Linked DNA regions of Homo sapiens: region 2 is linked to region 1. Evidence: promoter capture Hi-C in human tissues and cell types (Jung and others, 2019). All regions are on one chromosome and are shown on one strand. The core of a region is centred on a gene start or on the middle of the fragment in contact, and the rest is flanking DNA. Distances in the headings are between cores, read along the strand shown. Region 1 holds the start of PDE3A (phosphodiesterase 3A). Region 2 overlaps PDE3A (phosphodiesterase 3A).

What was found. Contacts are between HindIII fragments. The study calls those that stand out against the background at their distance.
Region 2: a fragment that was not itself captured here is called in contact with the fragment with the promoter of PDE3A in region 1 in 2 of the 25 tissues and cell types used here (H1 embryonic stem cells and heart right ventricle).

The regions. Positions count from the first base shown.
Region 1 is chr12:20,365,881-20,369,828 of GRCh38, reverse strand. PDE3A (phosphodiesterase 3A) reads right to left here and starts at 1,292. Exons shown (of 16, transcript NM_000921.5): 1 at 1-1,292. The coding sequence starts at 544. All of the region lies in intron 1 of PDE3A-AS1 (PDE3A antisense RNA 1), which reads left to right. RefSeq lists a silencer at 1-254. The HindIII fragment of the contact is 7,833 bases long and covers 1-3,331 here.
Region 2 is chr12:20,443,092-20,447,163 of GRCh38, reverse strand. The region is part of intron 1 of PDE3A (phosphodiesterase 3A); the gene reads right to left. Among named protein-coding and RNA genes, the nearest start is that of PDE3A-AS1, 75 kb to the right of the region's middle. The HindIII fragment of the contact is 3,350 bases long and covers 1,108-4,072 here.

The sequences.
Region 1 (3,948 bases), core at 43-2,542:
CCCCGACGCCCAGCCCAATCTGGACGAGCGCTTCCCCCCCGCAGCAGGCGGCCAGCAGCGCGACAGCCAGAGGCAGGCGCACCCCGGCGCGCAGGAGGTACAAGCCCATCCAGAAGAAGGCACACAGGAGACTGAAGAGCAGCGCCGAGGGCTGCAGCCAGGGGCTGAGCCGCGCACCGCCCCCGGGAGCACCTCCCCGAGGCCCCGGGAAGACGCCCCCTTCTGCTCCCGGGGCTGCTTCCTCCTCCTCCGCCGCCGCCGCCTCCTTACACTGCTCCAGGTCACAGCCGACCTCCCCGCGGACCAGCCTCACCAGCAGCGCCAGCAGAAAGGACAGGGAGCCCGCGCACAGCGCGGAGGAAAGTTTCCGAGAGCTCCGGAGCGGCTGCAGCACCAGGTCTCCCCAGCAGCCACGGCAGCCCGAGTCCCGCGGCGATGCGGGGTCCGCACGATGGTGGCAGTCCCGGCCCGCCGTGGGGGCTTGACTCACCCCACTGTGGACGGGCTTGTCCCTGACTCGTGCAGCGTCGCCGGGCACTGCCATGGTATAGGGTGCCCTCTTCACTGAATTCCCAGTGGCCCCCCGACGCCCCCGCCCCGACCCACGCGCGCGCGCGCACACACACACACACACACACGCACGCACGCTCTTCCCAATTCCACCCTCGGAATCCTTCTTCTCCCCAGGCCCACAATCCACTGAAAGTTTCAGCTTTCGAATAACTCCTGGAGAATGCTAGATGCTCCAATGAGACTTCTTCAAGTTAAAGGCTAGCACGCTCAAGTTGAAAACAAGCACGGGCAGAAACGATCAGGATTCCCCTTTTCTCTCTTTGAATATCTTTCACAGATTCTCTGCTCCACCCCCACCCCCGACTTATATCCTCCGGGGTCTCTTCCTACTTCAGGATTTCAAAAATTGCCCAATGCATCCCGCGCGCAGGAGCCGCTGACGCTGGAGGAGCCGGGGGCGCAGGGCGGGCTCCGGGCCATTCCGAGGCGCAGCTCGGCGCTGCGCTGCGCTGCAGCGCGCCGGGCCCGCGGCAGATGGAGGTCTCCCTTCTCCTCCTTCCTGCAGCTCTTTTTCTATCACTCTTTCTTTCTCCTCGGCCGATTCTCCCCGGCACGGCCCCAGGACGCGAATCGCCATTCCCTGGGGCAGAAAGCAAAGCCTCCCCCGCCTCTGTCAATCCAATTCATGGCAAAGGATGGAAAAAAAAAAATGGACAAGGGGCTGAGAAATAAGAAGTTGCTAAGTCCCGTCGGAGAGAGAGCCAGACCGAGAGACTAGCGGCAGCCGCAGAAGGGAGGGAGGGAGAAGGAGCGAGTAAGAGAGGAAGGGAGGGTGAGAAGAAAGGGAGGGTGAGAAGGGAGAAGGAGATTTGCTTTTTTTTTCCCTCCCCACTTCTATTTGATGCAAGGTTGGTGGTGATTTGCAGTTTTGCAAAGGGGAAACGAGTGGCGACGACTGCTTAAAATTGTATAAAACTGGCAACTGGAGTGATCGACAATTCCGCTTTCTTTCTTTAAGGCAACTCCCTAGGAAAGCTTTCTCAGCCGAGCTCCCGCCCCCTCCTGCGGAGGAGGCGCTACCCTCAGCTCGATTGCTCCTTTGCTGGGAAAGCGGCCGGTTCACCCTACAGGCTGGAGCAGGGGCTGCTGAGGCTGATCCACCGCGCAGCCCACCGCAGCCCCGGGGTGTGGGGGGCTGCGGCTAGCCCTGAGGCTGAGCTCCCTAGAACGTTGGAAGGAAAAAAAAAAAAAAAAGATTGTGTTTGCCTACTTGGCAGATGAGAGCCAACATACTTTCTACTGTCCCTGAAAATGACAGCCACTTCTACTGTCTGATTCAAAGATGTTCCCAAGTCAGGTACAACAGCAGTCCAATTTCAGGTGACAGTGTCATCCTTTGGTCGCTCCTGCTGGAAGGTCTGCTTTATGAGAACCCAAGCCTGGCCTGTTGGTTCAAATGATGGAAGAATCAGCCTTACCTAGACCACAATAGTATAAAAAGAAAGGAAGGAGAGGCAGCAGTCATTTAAATCCAGTGCATGAGTATTACACAATAGTTTTTGACTGTGGAAAGTAAAATTACATTGAGATTAAGTGACCGTATCCTCAAAAAAGGTTAACAAAGTTTAAAAGCCCAGATAGTTCATCAAAAAATAAAGAAAAATCTCAAGGGAGAGGTGAGGATAGGTGGGTTAACACTAGGAGAGATCTTAGAAGACTGTCTATGGCTGCAAAATACTACATCTTCGAGCAAAGCATATGAAAAAAATCAGGACCTTAGTTATTAATGAGTAAAGGTTCGTGTACTGCAGCAGTGTGATATTTGAGAAACTAAAAGAAAATTTTCAAGCTAACCTTTTTTTGGCAGATTATGAAAAAGAATTCAGTATCTGTTCAATGGACTTAAACTCTATTGATGTTCCCTGGGATCTAGTTGTCTTTTTAATATGATACTCCACTTTTAACATGGCTATCTTAGATGTCATTTGCCCTCACTAATAATAATCTTAATAATCCAATTTTGTCTTAATTATCTTGACATTCCAGGTTAAAGTGTATTTACAGCCTAGAGCATTTAGATAATTGATTCAATATGCCACTGTATTTTGTATGTAGACATGAAGCAATAAAAAAAGCCAAAAGGAGATCCTTGAGATAAAATTAATTTATGGGGACAGGGGGAGAAGATGACTTAAGTTTTAAACAGCTTCATGGGAAGCAGCCTGTTCTAGTAGAAGGCAGATATACTATAAAGGTATAGCTTCTCTCTGTCAGATGTCCAGAATTGTGCTACCACACAGGAGTATGAGTTGGGCAGCTAGTCAATGGCAGTGGGCACCATCTGTTTAATAATTAAGGAAACAGGAGCAGCAATGTCTTTGCCAAAGACAAATGAGCCCCCTAGCACGCACACATACTTTCATGAGTTTCCTTTTTAGACATATGATTCATATGCCAGATCCTACCTGGGACACATCGGAGTGAAAAACCTTGATTGGAAAATCATTCATATCTGTTGGCATCAAAAATAACATATTAAAATAATAAACCAAAAATCTGGCATATATCAAGGTTAAAAAGAAAAGCATAGTAAGGGAAATTTTAGAATATTTCAATTTTATCTGTCCCCTACCCCCACAATTATCTCAGTTCTTTAGAAAATTTAATATAATATTATCATAAAAACTGAACACTTAAGGTATGGGAAGCAGATGTTTTTTAAAAGTTGTAACAGGAAAAAATGGCATTTGCTAATGGCAGCAAAACAAGAATATTCTAAATCCATGTGTTAATAACATCCTGGAACTCTTCAATAAAATAAGGAGGCAATGTCCTGGCATCCAGGTTTCTTTAACAAATCATAATCAAAAAGTTATTTGTCCCATCAAAAGGAAAGAAGGTAGATTTTTCTCCCCATACCATCCAGAACCCAGAGGCAAGTGAACAAAGACAACAAAATGCTAATGTTAGAGAGATGCAGAAACCTGCAGGGCTATACTAACTGAAAGAAGCGACTAATAATGTACCTTTAACAGAGTATATTAAATGAAATAAGCTGCAATACATAAACTGGATAGGGAGCAATCACATATAAACACTGCCTCTTTTCTACAGATAGTGGTGAGTCCTAGTTCAAGAAAGTGACAACACAGCCAAAGAATAAGGAAAATGTTGTACGTGCAGAAAAATAGTAGAGCATGGACAACAGAAATAAAAATTTAAGTTTTACTTGATAAATCTTCCACTTAGTCAAATCTAGCAAACATGTTTTTACAGTTTTTTGGGAAAAGGATCTAACCCTTCACATTTGAGCTTTATTAAATATAGTTAAGCGTCAGGGGATTCTATTGTAAAATTCAGTAAGTTTACGTTCCGTAGTATGGGTTCAATCATTCTCTGCTACCTATCTGATTATTATATATTTATATCTAATAG
Region 2 (4,072 bases), core at 1,533-4,032, 76 kb before region 1:
TTGCAAGAGAGAGGCTTGTCTCATGCTGCCTCCTTTGCCCATCTGTGTTCCAGTTTCTCTTCTGAAGAGCAAGTGAAATGATGCCACTCCTCTGCAATGTCTTTATCAGAATAAAATCCACACTCCTCAATATGTCTGGCACAGGCTTCCAGGGCATTTCTCACTGCTGCCTTCAGGACCTCTTATCATAACACTCTTGCCCTTGCTCCACTGATGCACCCTCACCTGTGAGATTTACGCTTGCTGTTTTTTCTCCTTGGACTGCAGTTCCCTCAGCCATCCAGGTGGTTCTCATTTCCTTGCTTCTTTCAGAGAAATAAGCAATCGCCCCTTTATCAGTTTGTGTCTCCCTGATCAACCAATATAAGATAACATACATCTCCCATAACTACCTATAGATAACACTCGGTCTGCTTTTCTTCACGGCATTTATTCCTCCAAATACATTACTAGCTGTTAGAATGAAATTTTAAATGAATAGAAGATTTACCTATTGTTAACTGGAATTCTAAATGCTTAGGGTAGAGTCTGGCACATAGTAGGCAGAGAACTAATGGTCCCTAAAAAGTACTGACAAATCAAGAAGAGAATAAGATGATGTATACCTGGCATCCAGGACACAAACTCCAGTGGTAACAAGAACGCTGTCCCCACTACTCACCAACCTTGTTCCCGACCTTCCTTGAACGTGAGATTACCTCTAAGGATCAGCCTTCTCGCCAACTGTTGGCTTAGATACCATGAAATCTAACACATAATGAAGCTCGAGGAAAGCAGAAAAATAATGTTTTCCCTCACCCCATCTCAAAACACTCAACACATGGTTCCTCACTCAGTAGGCACTCAATAATACATGACCGTCTGAAAGCATGACCATTTTTATTTTACTAGAGAGGGAAGCAGAATGAGACAGATGACATTTTCTCACGACTTAAGCTTATACATTTGGAAGGAAGAAAGCAGTTGTAGTAAGAGAGGCAGGCTCTTCAAATTCTCACAAAACACAAATTCCTAGTTTTGCTTTGGATGGGAAGGGCTTCATTTCAGGCACGTTGGGGGAGAAAGGGCGAAGGGAAAAATGCTCAGACTATGCTATTTTTAAGTTATTTGGTAAGAATGGCTATTTTTCCCTCTGATATTCTTGAACCACCCAAATGTCATGTTTCCATGCACTGCTGTCTGGATGCTATCAAAGGCACGGCTCTGAGGTGAAAGGAAGGAGTCAGTCATATGCTCATCTTCTCACATGCTGCTACCACTGCTGATTTTTTTTAAAAGCTTTGTGACCTAGAAAGGAGATGTACGGTATGAATGATGCACAGACTGCAGAGAGCATAGGGCGTCATCAGTCTATTTATACCTCCAGGAAGGAAAAAATGAGTACAGGGCAATGGCTCTATATTCCAAGTACTGAGTATGCAAAGATTATCTGGAAGAAACAATAAACAACACAGTGAGGGCGGCATTTATGTCATCAGTGAGAAAGAAAAGGTGAGGCCATATTCCCATGTTCCTTGATCGTTCCAAAATTTTGTTAACTTTTAAAGAATTTCAAGTTGATCCCCTGATATTTCCCATGACTGTATAAAGCATCCCAAATCTGAGTTAAAGACACTGCCACCCATATTTTAATACAGCTTCACCTCATATGTGCATATGTATTTACATTTAGCAATAATCGATATCCATTTGGCTATACTGTAAGTCCCGAGGGAAAGTTTTTCAGGGTTAAGAAAGTATTTGGAAAAGCCTTACAGTTAATTATGCTACTTAACTCCAAAAAGGGGGAAAATGAGATTTACACAGATTTATACAATATGATAGAAAAAAAAATTTTCTCAAGGTGTGTAGTTCATTTCCCTTAAGATGTGAAATCTTTCCAGGACAAAGCAGGGAAAAAGCACCCAGGCCCAGCTGCTAACAGTTATTCCTGGATCACTAGTAAACTTAATGCCAGGCTTCACCTCTCGACTTCCATTTGTTTCTACTGTAAGCAGTATAACATGGAGCCTAACAGAAATGATGTTCTGAAACGTACCCATTTTGCTCTTTTGCAACCCGTTTACTTGTGCAATTACTGCCAGTTTCACTTGCTTTGGAGTTATTTTACTAGCAGTGGCGATGGATTTGATGACAGCTGGCCACAGTATGAGGTGTTTTCTAAGGCTTGACATTAGGTATTTCCTAGTGCAAAATTTACTGATCCCGCGTAGGCTCCAACCTAGAGCCAGGATTCCTTAATGGAACACAAACTGATTTACTTTGAATATACTCAAGCTTCACAGCAAACACTTCCTGTTTCTATTACTGTCCAAGTCTTCTTACCATGCCTGAGGCAGACAATTTAAGGCTTGATTCCTCACCCTTTCCCTTCATCTGCTGAAATCCCATTTAGTTTTAGTGCACCAGGCATGCACTGGTATTTCATCCTATGCATTCCTTCCACAGCCTGACCTATAAAGGGCTGACACTGAGTCCTGGCTTGTTCAGATCAGAGAGAATTAACACTTTTATTTCTTTAATTTCAAAAGCTTCTGAGGTAACTTTTGAGCTCGTAAATGTCAATAATTTGTTGTCAAGACAATTATATTCTTAACCCAGCTGCTACATATAGGGAACATAGAGACTGACAGAAAGTCAGTGAATTTAGAATTAAAACAGTAAGTTTATCTGATTGACTATGCTTCTCAAAATGTAAATGGATGATACAAATTAATACAACCAATTCATTTTATTTGGTTTGGTTTTGGTTTTTGAATGGGTTTATGGGTTTAAGAGACATTGCTCTCTGTTGTTTATGTGTATTCAGTGTCAGAAAGGAAAAGTGAGCAGTGTGAAGTCTTATTAGATGGAAGACAGGTCTAAGGCACATGGAAAACTGATATTCGTGATGGACAGGTCAGGAGCTAGAGAGCAGGGATAAAGAAAGCAGAAAAGAAAAGAAAACTCAGCTACAGGTACTCTGTAAGTGAAACTAACAGGTACTTGATAAATATTGGCTGGTTGATTACACAACGGAGGGGAAAGGAATGGCATGCTGTATCATCTTTAAAGACTCCTCTACATGTGCCACACTACTATGAATAGGAAATCAATTTTCCTGTGCTCAATAATTGTAGAGCTCTCTTGTCTCTTAACTTCCTGCTATATAAACCAGTCCTGCAAGGTCCTCCCTCCTTCTTTTCCTTCTCTCATATTGCCACAGGGGAGCTCACCGAAGGAGTCTGCCTTTAAATGGAGATAAACCTAGCACAAACAAAATCAGTTGTGCTTTCAATAGGTTATTGAAGTACAAACATTCAGAGGGAGTTTTAAACACTTTGGCAAATCTTCTGAGAGGCAGAGTAATGATGTTCCATAAGAAAATTTGCTAAACGAAAATAAGTAGAATAATACCTATTTCTCTTTTCAAAAAGAAATTTCATTTTCATGGAAGTAGGGTTTTTTATGATTTCCATACTTAATCCTTAATTTATGCTAATGCCTCTGTTTATAATTTTCAACATAATTACTGTGGGGCAAAAGAAAGCAAAGGGACCTATACAGACATATTTAATGTACACACAGCAAACGAAAAGAGTTAGTCTTATGCAATTTTTAAAAAGCTAGTCAAAAAAATGACTAGTCAAATTTTTTGAAGGAAACAGATATTTATTTTCGATTTCCTAATTTCATGTCTGTATCCTCAGTCACACTGACAGTCATCATTCATTCTAAAAAAAAATGAGGTATTACCCAAATAGCTTATGTCAGCATTAATTGTTAAATAAGTACATTTGTAATTCCTCCTGTCAGCCATATCCCCTTACGTATCTATGCAGATAGTCAAGCTCCTATATCCAAGTTAGGAGTTAGGAATACAGTGGTACAGTTTATCAATATCCATAGATAGGACAGAGTAAGATTTCCTCTCACTAAACATTTATTTTAAATCTCCCTCAAATCAATTTCTATATAATTTCTTGCAAAAAGAAATAAAAACCAGCAGTTACTGCTGACAAATTAAACTAGGGGCAAATACACATTAAATATATACATTTATATATTTACATTTGTATATGTATATTTATAT